Linked DNA regions of Homo sapiens: all the other regions are linked to region 1. The links are contacts of gene promoters, found by promoter capture Hi-C in blood cells and fetal thymus (Javierre and others, 2016). All regions are on one chromosome and are shown on one strand. The core of a region is centred on a gene start or on the middle of the fragment in contact, and the rest is flanking DNA. Distances in the headings are between cores, read along the strand shown. Region 1 holds the start of UBR4 (ubiquitin protein ligase E3 component n-recognin 4). Region 2 overlaps LOC105376819 (a long non-coding RNA gene). Region 3 overlaps CAPZB (capping actin protein of muscle Z-line subunit beta). Region 4 overlaps IFFO2 (intermediate filament family orphan 2). Region 5 overlaps CAPZB (capping actin protein of muscle Z-line subunit beta).

The links. Contacts are between HindIII fragments. The CHiCAGO score rates a contact against its expected background, and 5 or more counts as called.
Region 2: a fragment that was not itself captured here is called in contact with the fragment with the promoter of UBR4 in region 1 in 1 of 17 cell types (neutrophils); the score reaches 6.4 in neutrophils.
Region 3: a contact is called between a fragment that was not itself captured here and the fragment with the promoter of UBR4 in region 1, in 6 of 17 cell types (neutrophils, naive CD8 T cells, megakaryocytes and 3 more). The highest score is 8.4, in neutrophils.
Region 4: a fragment that was not itself captured here is called in contact with the fragment with the promoter of UBR4 in region 1 in 2 of 17 cell types (megakaryocytes and fetal thymus); the score reaches 6.5 in megakaryocytes.
Region 5: a contact is called between a fragment that was not itself captured here and the fragment with the promoter of UBR4 in region 1, in 11 of 17 cell types (fetal thymus, megakaryocytes, total B cells and 8 more). The highest score is 9.2, in fetal thymus.

The regions. Positions count from the first base shown.
Region 1 is chr1:19,209,001-19,211,700 of GRCh38, forward strand. It overlaps UBR4 (ubiquitin protein ligase E3 component n-recognin 4), which reads right to left and starts at 1,266. Exons shown (of 106, transcript NM_020765.3): 1 at 1,073-1,266. The coding sequence starts at 1,248. EMC1-AS1 (EMC1 antisense RNA 1) reads left to right here and starts at 1,386. Exons shown (of 2, transcript NR_135114.1): 1 at 1,386-1,559. RefSeq lists silencers at 936-1,255, 2,281-2,350 and enhancers at 1,306-1,355, 1,606-1,655. The HindIII fragment of the contact is 5,774 bases long and covers 1-1,931 here.
Region 2 is chr1:19,504,046-19,506,745 of GRCh38, forward strand. All of the region lies in intron 1 of LOC105376819 (a long non-coding RNA gene), which reads left to right. Among named protein-coding and RNA genes, the nearest start is that of CAPZB, 20 kb to the left of the region's middle. The HindIII fragment of the contact is 4,630 bases long and covers 1-2,700 here.
Region 3 is chr1:19,466,112-19,468,811 of GRCh38, forward strand. The region is part of intron 1 of CAPZB (capping actin protein of muscle Z-line subunit beta); the gene reads right to left. Among named protein-coding and RNA genes, the nearest start is that of CAPZB, 18 kb to the right of the region's middle. RefSeq lists an enhancer at 2,264-2,558 and a silencer at 2,287-2,336. The HindIII fragment of the contact is 3,479 bases long and covers 1-2,700 here.
Region 4 is chr1:18,941,397-18,944,096 of GRCh38, forward strand. The region is part of intron 1 of IFFO2 (intermediate filament family orphan 2); the gene reads right to left. Among named protein-coding and RNA genes, the nearest start is that of IFFO2, 14 kb to the right of the region's middle. RefSeq lists enhancers at 1-173, 1-193, 487-1,004 and a silencer at 1-173. The HindIII fragment of the contact is 5,184 bases long and covers 1-2,700 here.
Region 5 is chr1:19,482,437-19,485,169 of GRCh38, forward strand. All of the region lies in intron 1 of CAPZB (capping actin protein of muscle Z-line subunit beta), which reads right to left. It also overlaps a transcript of LOC105376819 not described here. Among named protein-coding and RNA genes, the nearest start is that of CAPZB, 1.7 kb to the right of the region's middle. RefSeq lists enhancers at 1,380-1,888, 1,889-2,396, 2,397-2,733. The HindIII fragment of the contact is 294 bases long and covers 1,129-1,422 here.

The DNA of each region.
Region 1 (2,700 bases), core at 16-2,515:
TTACCAAACTCAACCATTATTTTATTATAATTTGTTAAAAACTCTGCATCCAAAGGATTACAAGTCTACAACAAGAAAAAGCACAAAAACAATTTGTCAAACCGTGGGCCTCCTTTGAGTAACAAATAGCAATTTTTAACCTCTGGATAGCAGCTAGATATACCCTTGTCATCGTGAAGCTAAAATGACCCAGTTAACAATTGCAGGGAGTTGCTGAAATGAGGTATGGCTAGAAAAATGAAAGTCAGTCTGGCTTTAAAAGCAAAAGTCTACCATTAAACTAATGAAAGACTGCTCTGAGCACAGTATGTCAGGAAAAGGCAGGCACTCTGAGATCACCATCTTTGTACCTACATAACTGTCACTAGCTAAGAATCGCTGTGCAAAAAGACAAAAACACACAAAAGGAAACCAACAGATAGTACCGTTTGTAAAAGAATGTGATGATATTTTAATGCGAGGGGGATGGGAGGCAGCAAGAGAACACACACACCACACATCCTCTGGGAAAATGATCTCTCAGACACACACTGAAATGTTTTTAATCAAAGACCGATACAGTAGGAATGCACAAGGAGTGCAACGTAAAAAGAGGTCATCAATGTAGCTAGTGGCTTCAGTCACAGAAATAGCACGTGCCCCCACTGATTACAGCACCGCGGGGAGACCGTTATTAAATTATACCGTACGGCTCCGCTCCGGCCCAGGCTAGGAGGATGAGTGCGGGCGAGAAATGCAAACTCATCTGTGACTTGACCCAAGGGGCAGCCCCGTGAACATTCCCTTAAGAGGGCGAATGCATCTCACTCTCAACCATGTCCGGCCACGCCCTCCCGCAGGGAGGCCGCTAAAGTTTTGCTCGAGAGGGGAAACTGAGGTAGAGGTGATTTACATGCGTTGGCGGAGGGAAACCCAGGCAAGCCAGTCTCCCCGGGCCCGGGACCCCGAAGCCGTGGCTGTGGCGGGGATCCTCAAGGGGGCAGGGGGCGGCCCGGAAAGCGGGTCCAGACGATCCGGCTCGAAATCCCCTCCCCCCACAACAGCGTCGCCCGCCAGAGCCGCCGCCCGGTACCTCTCGATGACTGAGGCCACCAGCTGCGGCAACTCCTTCATCTCGAAGGCGGAGTAGGACGCGGACAGCAGGGGCCGCACAGCCACCTCCCAGCCCGGGGTCGTGTCCGCCCCCGTTGCCGGGGTCCCCGGCGCCGGAGCCGCTGCCGCCGCCTCTTCGCCGCCGCTCGTCGCCATCTTCCGTCGTACTACTGCGGCTCCCTCCGGGGGCTTGCCACCGGCCCAGCGCCGCCTCCCAGGAGGGGGCGGAAGTGACGCAATCTGTCGCGTCAGACTGCGCGCCGCCGTCATGGGTCAAAAACGCGACGCGCGGAGCGGCCTTTGCTCTCACCGGGGTCGAGCCGCGGCGAGGGAACGGATCGGAGACGCTGCGCCTGCTCAGAAGGTAGCGCAGCGGGGAAAGGCGGGAGAGCGTTAACTTCTGAGCCTGCGCGGTGGGAGTTGCTCAAGCAGGTGGTAGCGACTTGGCTTCCGGGCAGCGGGTAAAGGTGAGTCTGGGGCATGGGTTCAGTGGGCAAGTCTAGGGCAGCAGAGTTGACTACGCCTCGGCGTATAGAATGGCCCTGGCCTGGGACAGCTAAGGACGACAAGAGGAGGCCGAAGCCTAAAACGCTTTCACCTGCTTCTTCCCCTGCCTAGATCCCCCCAATAGTAATACTAAAGAGCGCCATAGTTTACAAAGATTTCTCCCTCTCACAACACCTTTTAATCACTGATCCGTATTCCCTTAGCACTCAAATCTCTTCTGTTTGGATTGCCCTCATTAACAATCTGACCAGCTCGTACAATGCATCCCTCTTTGCAATTTGCCACGTATGCTTACGTGTTCCCCTTTTTTCTACTGGCAAGGAAAGAATGTAAGCTTTTATTCACAGGAGATGTCTGAGACTTTTGCCGGTAAAATGATCTGGCTACAAGGTCTAAGAGGGAAAAGCAGTTTGCTCGAGGAAAGGTATTCGTGCATTAAGGACAGTCCTGTGAGTGAGATATTGGTGGACGGCTTCAAGCTCTAGCCTGTGGCCTACAGCTGGCCTAAATAAGACTGGGAAGGAACTGTGAAGACGGTTTCAAATTCCTAAAGCCCTGAAATTCTCCCCCTAAGTTTAGGAAGAGCTTTTGTTCTTGGTGTGTAACACTGATAAATGAATTGGTACCTAGTGATTAATCTGCACTTTTATTAAGATATGACCTACTTTACCTTTTTTGAGACAGGATCTTGCTCTGTCGCCCAATAGCCCAGGCTGGAGTGCAGTGGCAGAGTTGCAGCTGGCTGCAGCCTCCACCTCCCTGGCTCAAGTGATCTTCCAGCCTCAGCCTCCCCAGTAGCTGAGACTATACAGGTGCAGGCCACCACTCTTAATTTTTTTTGTTTGTTTTTAAGAGACAGGTCTCCCTACGTAGCCCAAGCTGTTTTCGAAGTCCTAGGTTCCTCCCACCTTGGACTCCCAAAGTGCTGGGATTACAGGCTTGACCCACTGCGCCCAGCCTGCATCTTTACATTCGAAATAAAATTCAGTCAAGTCAAAGCCGGTCTTGGAGGAAAATGTGGCTTTGATGACAGCAGTAGGGATTTTCCTTCAGTGCCTACTTACCAGAGGATAATAATAACAGCAAGTTTCTTAAACATAA
Region 2 (2,700 bases), core at 29-2,528, 300 kb after region 1:
AGGCATGAGCCACCGCGCCTGGTCTTTTTTTTTCTTGAGATGGAGTCTCGCTTTATCACCCAGGCTGGAGTGCAGTGGTGTGATTTCGGCTCATTGCAACCTCTACCTCCTGGGTTCAAGCGATTCCCCTGCCGCAGCCCCCCAAGTAGCTGGGATTACAGATGCCCACCCCTGTACCTGGCTAATTTTTGTATTTTTAGTAGAGACAGAGTTTCACCATGTTGGCCAGGCTAGTCTCGAACTCCTGATCTCAAGTGATCTGCCAGCCTTGGCCTCCAAAAGTGCTGGGATTACAGGCATGAGCCACCGCGCCCAACCGGCATAATTTTTAATAGTGGCTCAGTATCCATTGCATGGAGTGGGGGTCATGATTTTTTTTGTTGTTTTACTTTTTAAAAATTGTTTGTAGAGACAGCGTCCCACTGTGTTGCCTAAGCTGGTCTCAAACTGCTAGGTTCAAGTGCTCCTCCCACCTCAGCCTCCCAAAGTGCTGGGATTATAGGCATGAGCCACTGCGCCAGTCCTGTATTTTGATTTTTTTTAAGTAACCCCCTAATGTTGTACAGTTTGGTTGTTTCCAGTTTTTCACCATCAATAGCAATAAACATCTTTGTATGTATCCTTCTGCTCATATCCCTAATTATTTTTTTAGCACTCACAAGTAGAATTTTGCATCTAAGGAAGAGCTACATTGTCAAGACTTTTGCTATTCATTGCCAAATTTCATTAAAAAGTTGTACAAATACACACCACTGGCAGCAGTGTATGAGAATGCTATAATAAAGGCTTTGGGCCAAGTTGACAATTATGAGCAAAAAAAAAAAAAAAAAAAAACAAAATCAAGAAGATAAGTGTTTGCTAAAGGCTCACCCTACGCCAGCTGTGTTTATTTGTTGAACTCTATCACCATGTTCCTTGGCCCAAACACTGAAGGTCCTTTAGATTCTTAGTTTATTTAGTGCCTCTTTCAACACTCTAGTACTTTGACCCCAGTCTTATCTGAAGGAAAGAGGATTTCTGGTAAATAGTTTCCAATTTGGAAACTCAACCCAAGCACTTCCATCCCTCATCCCAGTGTGGACCACCTCTGTGGTTTTAACTGCTGGGGATGAGTCAGAAAGTGATGCTGGCTGAGTTGGAACTGAGAACTGTAATGCTTATAAGAAATAATAGAGAAGGTTTGAGGTGAAAAAGTCATGTTCCGAGGTACAAAGGAAAAACCAATAACAACCCAGAGTTTGGAGTTTCATTCTGCCCTGCTCTGATAATATCACTATGGTGATGTTCTCCATAAACAATTGCAAAATAGCAAGATGAAAAGGAACAAGCAAGTTCCACCCAGGCGATCTGGAGTTATTTTAGGGATCAAGGCAGTGTCATCTGGGGTAAATATGGAATGCAAAATCTGTTCTTGTAATAATCATCCCCTTCTTTTGTGAGGCTGAACAAAGACCTGGCAAATCAGTCGTTTTGTGCTCAAAGAAGCACTGACCCAGTGTTCTCAGGGCCAAAGAGAAAGTGAAGCCAAAACAATGGAAATGATGGTTAATAACAGATGCTGGAATTATTCTTCTCACACCCATGGACTCTGAGACTCCACTGAGCCTGGTGTGGAGTCCAAGCGGGTGGAACAACGGTGATGTTCTTGGGTAGGGTTGGCCCAGTTGAGAGGCTGGGATCGGGACCCCAGGTTGCTGAGCTCGGTTGCCTGCCCTTGACCTTGATTCTTGGGCCAGAGTCGGTGGAGGGAAGCATCTTCAAGGCCACGGTCTGTCTCTGGGGCATCACCATCTGCTGCAGATGACATTTACTGCTCCTATCCTCATGCTATTCTCTTTGAACCCCTGACTCAGCGAGCCCCAGTCCAAAAAGCAGAACTAGCTATTTTTTGCATCAAGAAAAAGATGTCAGGCAATACACTTGCCGAATTCTTTGCTGACCCTGAAACGCTTCCTCTTTGCACTTAACTCCTGTTCTTCCTTTATTCTCTTTGCTGCCTTCTCTTCTAGACCACTAAATTGCAAGCGCCGCTATCTTCTCCAATGAAGATGCTCAAGGGAAGGGCTGTACTCAGCCATGGAGGCTGGCACAGTGCCTGGGGCACGCAAGTTTCTCCATAAATGTCAGCTCATAGGAGGTGAATTCAAAATCCCATGCCTACCCTAAAATGGACATTTCTCCGGCAGATCTGAGACTGAGGCTATTTGTTCATTCATTCAACAAATATTTATTGAGCACCTACTAGAAACCAGAATTTGTGCTAGGGACTGGAGCTGTAAGGGAAACAAGATTCCAGGGCCCTGTCCTTATGGAGATTACATTCTTGTACACTGTAATGCAAGTGGTGAGCACAGCTTCCATCTTGTCACAGTGGTGAGCACAACCTACTTCTCTGACCATTGGACAAAAAATTGCACTCCCCACTTACCTTGTCTTATTTTATATTTCTTTGTTGCTGATCTTTCAGTCTTTGCATGCAAAAATGTATCCTCTTTGAGGGTGCTTTATGATGTTCATTGCTGAATCCCAAGCACCTAGAACCACTTCTAGCATCCAGCAGGTGTGTTGGTCTATTTGGGCTGTTATAACAAACTACCATGGACTGAGCATTTTATAAACAGCAGAAATTTACTTCTCACCGTTCTGGAGGCTGGCAAGTCCAAGATCATGGCGCCAGCAGATTTGGTGTCTGGTGAACGC
Region 3 (2,700 bases), core at 39-2,538, 260 kb after region 1:
GCGACACTAATCACTGCACGCACTTAGGCTGAGGTGTGGTGGGTGGAGGATCAGACTCAGAGGTGAATCTGTGCTCCTGGCCTACTCCACCAGCTCCACAGCTCCGCCAGGAGGGTCTTTCACTCCCACACTGGGGAGGCAGAGCCAGATGCATGGAGCTATTCAAGGTCCTGCCTAGCTCCAAAGCCCTTACTCTTTGCACTAGACCAGGCTGCTTCCTTGGCTAATAAACAGTGAGAGCTGAAACCCAAACAAAAACAAGCAGCACACGTGAAGACAAAATGTTCCTGAGCTGCAACGTTTTTCAATCTTTTGAGCTCATAGATCACATGTCTAGGTCAGAGTCCTGAGCTTCCTCACGGCGCAGGTGATGTGAGAGGGGCTGAGTAACCTCGAGGTACCACTGAATGGCATCCTGCAGTCACTCAAAACGTGTGAGCCTGGAGGGACCCTGGTGCTCACATGGTCTGATATGCAAAGAAGAAAAAGAGGCATGGGGGATCGGGAATAGTTCAACATCACCCAGCACATCAGAGGCCAGGATGCAGTCCCAAGTCACGCTCCAGACTCCTGGTACAGTGCTCTTTTCACGCCTGCAGCATTTCCCATGGCATGCTGTGCAGGCCAATGGGGTTTAAGGGAGGTTTTAGAGAGCATATGGATGAATGCAGTTTAATAATTACCTATATTTAATATTCATAGGAAAAATATAACTAGCACATCAAACATGATTTTGTAGATGTTTCTGCTTACGAAGAGGCTAGATAGCGGTGTTAGGCTCAGGCCAAAGTTTTTTGTTTTTGTTTTTGAGAGAGGGTGTTGTTCTGTCACCCAGGCTGGAATGCAGGAGTTATTCATAGGAAAAATCCTAACACACAAGCTCCAGGGATCCTCCCGCCTCAGCCTCCCAAGTAGCTGGGACTCCAGATGCACCATCACACCCAGCTTTTATTTATTTATTTATTTATTTTGTAGAGATTGGGTCTCACTATGTTGCCTAGGCTGGTCCCAAGTGATCCTCCCACCTTGGCCTCCCGAAGTGCTGAGATCCACCATGCCTGGCAACTACGGGCACTGTGCCCAGCCCTCAAGCCAATTTTAAGGAAAGCCTCAAATAAATAATAATAAAAGTAGCATACAAATCCAGCAAACATTGTGCTGGTAGACAGCCACACTGGGCTCATTCCTGCAGTGCAGCAGGCTAAAGCAAGAAGGAATAAAAGGAAAGATAAAGCAAACAGAAGGGAGAAGGGAGGCAAAGAGAGGAACAGTCCCCTCCAGCGGCTCAGCTCTTGCGCTGAGGAGTGAGGCCCCCACAGCAGAGGACACGGATGTGCCACACTCATTCTCCCTACAAACTTATCTAGCCTAAGTCACCGCTCTTCTCACCCCAAACGTGCTAAGGTCCAAAGGTCCAAACACTGTGTATCAGCCCAATCACAGGGAGCAAATGGCCCTTTAACACCCGCCCTGAGACTACTATCAGAATGGCCTCCCTCTATCCCAGTATGTGGGACAGGTATCAGCTCAGATATTTAATCCATTTTCTTGCCTGAGTGATTCAGGTGTCCCCATTAAATTCTCTTCCATCTGCTGCATGCTTCCCAGTGCAGAGAGGCCAGAGGGCCCCCGAAAGCCTCCCCATTCACAAAAGCCCAAATGACCAGGGCTGTTTTGGTTTAAAGCACAATTTGGGTTCACATAACACCTCATTATGCTTCCCCGACATCGTTTCCACACCAGCATCAGATGCTGGGAACTAGAGCTTGAAAACACTGCAGGGCCGCAGAGCTCTCAAGAGCTGTGCCCATTCCACCCCTGCAGGGCCTAAGAATGCAGCCCTCAGCCAGGCGCAGTGGCTCACGCCTGTAATCCCAACACTTTGAGAGGCTGAGGCAGGAGGATCCCTTGAGCTCAGGAGTCCAAGGCTGCTGTGAGCTATGATTGAGCCACTGCACTCCAGCCTGGGTGACAGAGTGAGACCCCGCCTCCTAAAAAAGGGGGCTAGGCACTGACAATATGAACTCCAAACTATGCATATAGACTAAGACGCTGAAACAATATATTGAAAGGTTAACAGTGCTGCTGGCAAGCTAAGATTATGAATTATTTTTGTTTCTTCCCTCTTTTCTATATTTTCAAACTTTTCCATAATAAACATACTGCTTTTATAACAAAACAAAAAAACACAATAAACTTTTATTTAATGATACTATCAGGTTACAAAGGGCTCCCTCCTGATGGGGAGAGGGGTCCCTTGCCACTGGTGCTCACACTCAACCAAGCGCCATCCACTCCCCTCCACTAGCCTGTGGGCCTTTCACTAGCTCGGGGTCCCCAAGGCCTGGAACATAGGAGGCGCTCAGGGAATGATGATACACAGGGGTTGGGGGTGGAGTCGTGAAAAGGAAGTCAATGATAAACTCTGAGGTATCAGCTGTGCGGCAGGGTGGGGCGGAGCAGGGCAGGGCAGAGCAGGGCAGGGCAGGAGAGTGTACTGAAATAGAAGAGGGTAAATCAGAGCCTCCTTCCACCCAGGACTTCCTTCTCAGCATGGCCCTGCCTCCCACCCAGCTGCTTTGAAAGCTCTCCCACCCCTCACTCTTCTGGCTCCTCTGAGTTTAAATTAGTCATTTCCCCAGCACCCGCCATGCCCTCCTGGGCCACTGAGTCGGCACACGCCGTCTCTCTGCCTGCCAT
Region 4 (2,700 bases), core at 45-2,544, 270 kb before region 1:
TGTCTCACAGATGAAACCCTAAACCAGCTGCCCTGACGTCAACTCTGGAAAAACAATGCCAAGCCAGCCTTCAACGTCACTCCTCTGCCAAGGTCTGGGATTGGGCCCTTCACCCACAAGGCCTCGCAAGGCAGTCTATGAAAACACAGAAACCATCTACCCATCGCCTACAGGGGCCCAGAAGGAGGAACGGCTGCCTTGCTGCTGCTGGGTGCAGGGCAGGGCTTGAACCCCTGTCTTCCAATTCCCCTATCTCAGCCTGCCAGAATGAGCTTGCATGTGTGGCAGAGAGTACTTTGGGTAACAGTCTGCAAGAGGCAGGTTCGAATCCTGATCCTGGCCCTACCTCATAGTGAGACCTCAGACCAGCAATGTGACCCCCTGAGGCTGCTTCCAAATCCACACAACGGGGAGGCTGAGACAGTCCATGATCCCCAGGGAGGCGGGGACAGGGAAAGATTCCCCCATTCATGTCCACATTCCATCAGGCCCTCCTAGGAGCCACAGGCTCCAGGTGACACCCTGCACTGGACACAGCCTTGAATGCCAGGTCTTGCCTTCCCAGTCACCCTGTGCTGACAGTCTGCTCGAGAAGAGAGGGGACATGACCTCCTCCTGGCTGCCCAGGCGGCTCTACCGGGGAGAGGAAGTGCTCAGAACACAAAAGGCCAGTCTTCAGCCAAAGCGGGAGGGAGCAGGCAGTTCTCACTGTGCCGCGTTTTCCTTTTGTATGAGATGGGATGGGATGATGAGAACCACAGGGTGTTGGTGAGCCTGACCCAGGAAAGGCTGCCCTGTCTCCTTATCTCCGGGGTAAGCCCTGGAGCTGGAAGGCTTGAGAACTTTGCCTAGAATGTTGGAGTTGGGTGAACCATAGAGGCTGATCCTTCATTCCCCCACAAAGACTATGTTTCCAGAGCTCCTTGTCTGGGGATGTGGCCTGACAAATAGTACTTTGGCATTTGTTCACATTTTTATGTGTACAAATTGGGGCCTGGGGGCTGGTGGGAGCCAGGCCAGGGCAGGAGGGAGGGAGCGGTAACAGCTGAGGGGCCAGCAGCACACGTAGCACTCTGCAGGCAACATCAAATCCTCGCAACCTCATCAGCTAAGATTGTCATCCCCATTTTACAGATGAGAGAACTGAGGCTCAGAGCAGTAACACAACTCCAAGCAGTGTCACCTCAGAGCCAGAGTTCCCACCCAAGAGAAGGCCCAAATCACGGGCCAACAGGAAACATGAAGCAAGAGCAAATGAAGCAATTTCTTTTTAATTCCCCACAATTGAATTATGTCTTAGGGCTCAGAAAAGGAATAACCTACAAGTTGGAGGTCCCTCAACTTGGCATCAGGTTAATTCTGGCTCTGCCAGCAGTAGCTTGCTGAGTTCAGGCCATCAGTCTCCAAGTCAGATAAGTCCTGATGTTTTATTTTATATTATTTCTTTTTTTTTTTTTTTTGAGATGGAGTCTCATTCTGTCGCCTAGGCTGGAGTGCAGTGGCAAGATCTTGGCTCACTGCAACCTCCACCTTGCGGGTTCAAGCCATTCTCCTGCCTCTGCCTCCCAAGTAGCTGGGATTACAGGCTCGTGCCACCACACCCGGCAAATTTAAGTCCTGATGTTTTAAATGCTAATATTTTATTTAAAGGTAAGTGTGAAACCAACAGCAATGTAATATTAAGACTCAGCCAGCCATGGTGGCTCACATCTGTAAGCCCAGTACTTTGGGAGGCCAAGGCAGGAGGATCACTTGAGGCCAGGAGTTCAAGACCAGCCCCGGCAACATAGCGAGACCCCTATCTCAACAAAAATTATTTTTTTTAAAAAAAAATTAGCTGGGTGTAGTGGTGTGTGTCTGAAGTCCTAGCTCCTCGGGAGGCTGAGGCAGGAGGATTGCTTGTGCCTAAGGAGTTGAAGGATGCAGCAAGCAGTGACTATTCAACAGCACTCCAGGCAGGGCAACAGAGCAAGACCCTGTCTTAAAAAAAATGTCTTTCCATATAAAAACATGTGCAAATCCCAAAGTACTATTTGTCAGGCCACATGCCCAGACAAGGAGCCCTGGAAACATGGTCTTTATGGGGAATGAAAGATCAGCCTCTACGGTTCACCCAACTCCAACATTCTAGGCAAAGTTCTCAAGACTTCCAGCTCCAGGGCTTAACCCAGAGATAAGGAGACAGGGCAGCCTTTCCTGAATCAGGCTCACCAACACCCTGTGGGTATCATCATCCCATCCCATCCCATACAAAAGGAAAACGAGGCACAGAGAAATGGTGCAGCCAAGCACAGGGCTGGCAGATCGGGAAGGCAGATCAGTGTCAGCATCCCAAGACCTCAAAACCAGGCCAGAGGCTGGAGAAGTGCCTTTTGCGACATGGAGACAAACCCCACGGGCAACCTCAGATGTCTCTTTTGTAGGTGGAGGGAGCTTCATCCACAGCGCCAGGGACCCAGATGTCTGGTCAAGGAGCAGGGCCCTGTCTCTGCGGACCCCACTGTACAGGCTCCGAGTCATGCCTTTGGCAGTTGCTTCTCTGCTCCAAGTGCTCTGTCCTCTGGGAGTTTTCCAAACCCCTCCTGAAAGTGCCAGCAGCCCCCAGAGGGAGCCCTGAGCTCAAGGGTTTAAGGGGAGTCCTGTGGAGGGGACAGGGTGAAAATACCTGGGTTCCGGCCCCTGCTCTGTTGCGTGACCTCA
Region 5 (2,733 bases), core at 26-2,525, 270 kb after region 1:
GAGCAGCAATTCCTGAGGGGGCCTCCCTAGTCCCCGTTCCTGCTAAAGCCTCACCATCATCATAACTAAGAATAATTCCCAAGTCAGAAACTGAAGCTGTGTAAGGAACGGTGCTCTGAAATTGTACAGCACTCAGACAGTGGTAAGATTATTACCTGCTAAGGGAATGCAAATAAATTCCATTTGCCTATGCATTTTAACTGGGAAGGAGAAACTCATGCCAACAAAAATCATGGAATTCATTCCAAAGTCAAATGCATTTTAGATTCTCAAGTCACTATTTCCCTCAATGGATAACAGAGATCTAGCTGTATTCTCTACCATCAAATCTACTGAAAATGAAAAACATGGTGATCTGAATTCATTTACCTACAATGCAACCTCACACCACCACTTCTGTCCTACGCCAACCATCTACACCGGCTTAATGGTCAGAGTATTCAAATAGGGGATAAACGTAACAATAAGCAGTCAGAAATTACAAGGCTAAGGGATACTAAGAACAAGTGACTGAGAGAATGAATATGAAATCCAAGCAGGTAAGTTCATGGACACAGACACATGCCAAAGAGAACATTCCAAGTGGTTTCTTCCAACGCCAGGTGCTGTTCTAGGCCCCACGGATACAGCTGCGGAAAACACAAGACACAAATCTCTGCCCTCCAAGAGCTCATTCTGGCCCATGCTAAATATGCCTGTATCACCATACAGCTATTTCACTATAAACATGATTTCCTATACAAAGGATCTAAAATACAATACATGGGCAATAAATACTGCTCCTCCCCCCTTGCCATGTTTGAATATCCCATTTTATGTTTTTCAAACGGTATCATTAAACCTTCTGACATACAAGCAGCTTGGTACAATGGGAAGAACAGTTTAGAGCCTGCCAGATGGGCTTCCACTGACCAACAGTGGTTCCTCCACTGGCTGAGCAACACCCTGAATAAGTCACTCCACCTCCTGAGCCTCAGCTGCCTCATCTATAAAATGGGGACAGCCCCAGAAGGGCTTCCTGTGGATGAAAACAGCTTGTACAGGTGAAGCACACCACAGTGACTGGCAGACAGTTCCTCCACCCTTTCCAGCCTTTTCAGATGAGAGCTGAGTACAAGACTCCTGAGAAGCTTCAGGTGTCATGTGCTCCTCCTGGGGGACTGAGGCACTTTCCCATCACCTGGCGAGAATCGCTGCTTCCTGCCTTATACTTTGTCCTGAGTGCACACTCAGGAAACTTCAGCCCACTTTCAAAGTCCTCACCCACCACTGCCCTGGAGAAGTCGTTCTCCATCAAGGCCTGGGGCCAGGCCCACCTCCCCAAACAAGGAGTTTTCAGCCAAAGTTACTGGACAAATCCGAAGGCCTTAAAAGTGGCATTGCCCATGTTTTTAATCAGCATACAGGAAGGCATCAAAAGAAAGCTTAACCCATCTCAACTACTCACCCTCGTTCAGCAGCAACATCCCTTGACTAAACAAGGAACCATGGTCCTCAAAACACTTTGAGGCCCAAAGTCCACATACAAACATGCTCCAAAAATCCCTTGATCCTGTCAGGAAGAAGTTCTCTGGCCCTTCCAACCTAAGTGCTGGGCCTGTCCTGCAGAAGGGTCAAGTGGCAGGAGGGCAGGTCTATCTGTGGGGGCCTATGTGAAACCCCAGGTTCCTCAAAAGTCTGGATAGCATCTGCCTTCTTTACCAAAACAAACACCACGAGCGGAGCCAGCACTCTCCCTAGGCGTTCTGCTCACCTGATCCGAGGGACTTCCATAATCAGCAGTTCCAACCCTTGCAAGCTGACAGTTCAGAGGGAAGGGGAGGCTGCGCCTGCTTGGGTGCATCGTGTCCAGGCCATATGCTGGATCCAGGGCCTGGTGGCCCCCCAAGGCCACGGCCTCACAAGGGCGATTGTGCGTTCATCCTTGTCCTGTGGGCCACCCATCCTCGCCCCTCGGCTCCCACTCAGGCCCGGGCGCCGTGGACCCCGGCCTGCCCTGCAGAATGCTTCGCACGCACAGCACCCACGGCGGCAGCCTCGAGAAGGGCCCGCAGAGCAGCGCGCTGCCTTCTGGGCACACCGATGCCCGCCCTTCCCTCGCTGGCTCCTAGGCGGCCTCCCTAGAAGCGGCAACTGAGAAGGCACAGCACCGGGACCACCCCATCCCTGATGGAGAGCTCCCCTCGCTCCCCAAAGGCTGCAAAGAAGGCGCGCCCCAGGTACAGGGAAGGGGACCCTGGGTCGTGCACCAGGCAGGGGGCAGGACCCTGATGAGAGGCTCAGGGCGGGGACCGAGCGGGGCTGACGCAGGTTACGCTAGGAGTGGCGAAAAGTCCAGGGAAGGGGATCATGGTGGGGAGGGGGCAGTGAGGTCCAGACGGGGGCCATGGGCGGAGAAGAGGAGGTCCAGATTTAAGTTCACAGAGAGAAGAGGAGATTCAGGCTGAGGCCACGGAGAAGAGGGGAAGCAAACCTAGGCCGCTGCAGAAGGGGCTGACCGGGGTCCAGCCTGAGGCCATGGAGAAGGCAAAGGGGGAGGGACAGAGGGAGGCAGCGGCCTAGCCTGGGCCATGGCAGGGAGAAACGACGGCCTAGCCTGGGCCGGAGAGACGGGGGAAAGCAGACCTAGCCCTAGACCGGGGGAGGAAGGGGGCCCACGCCAGGGTCACCGAGGGGGTGCCTGGCTGGGGACACGGTTCGGGAGGGAGGGTCTAGCCTGGGCTATGGGAGAGA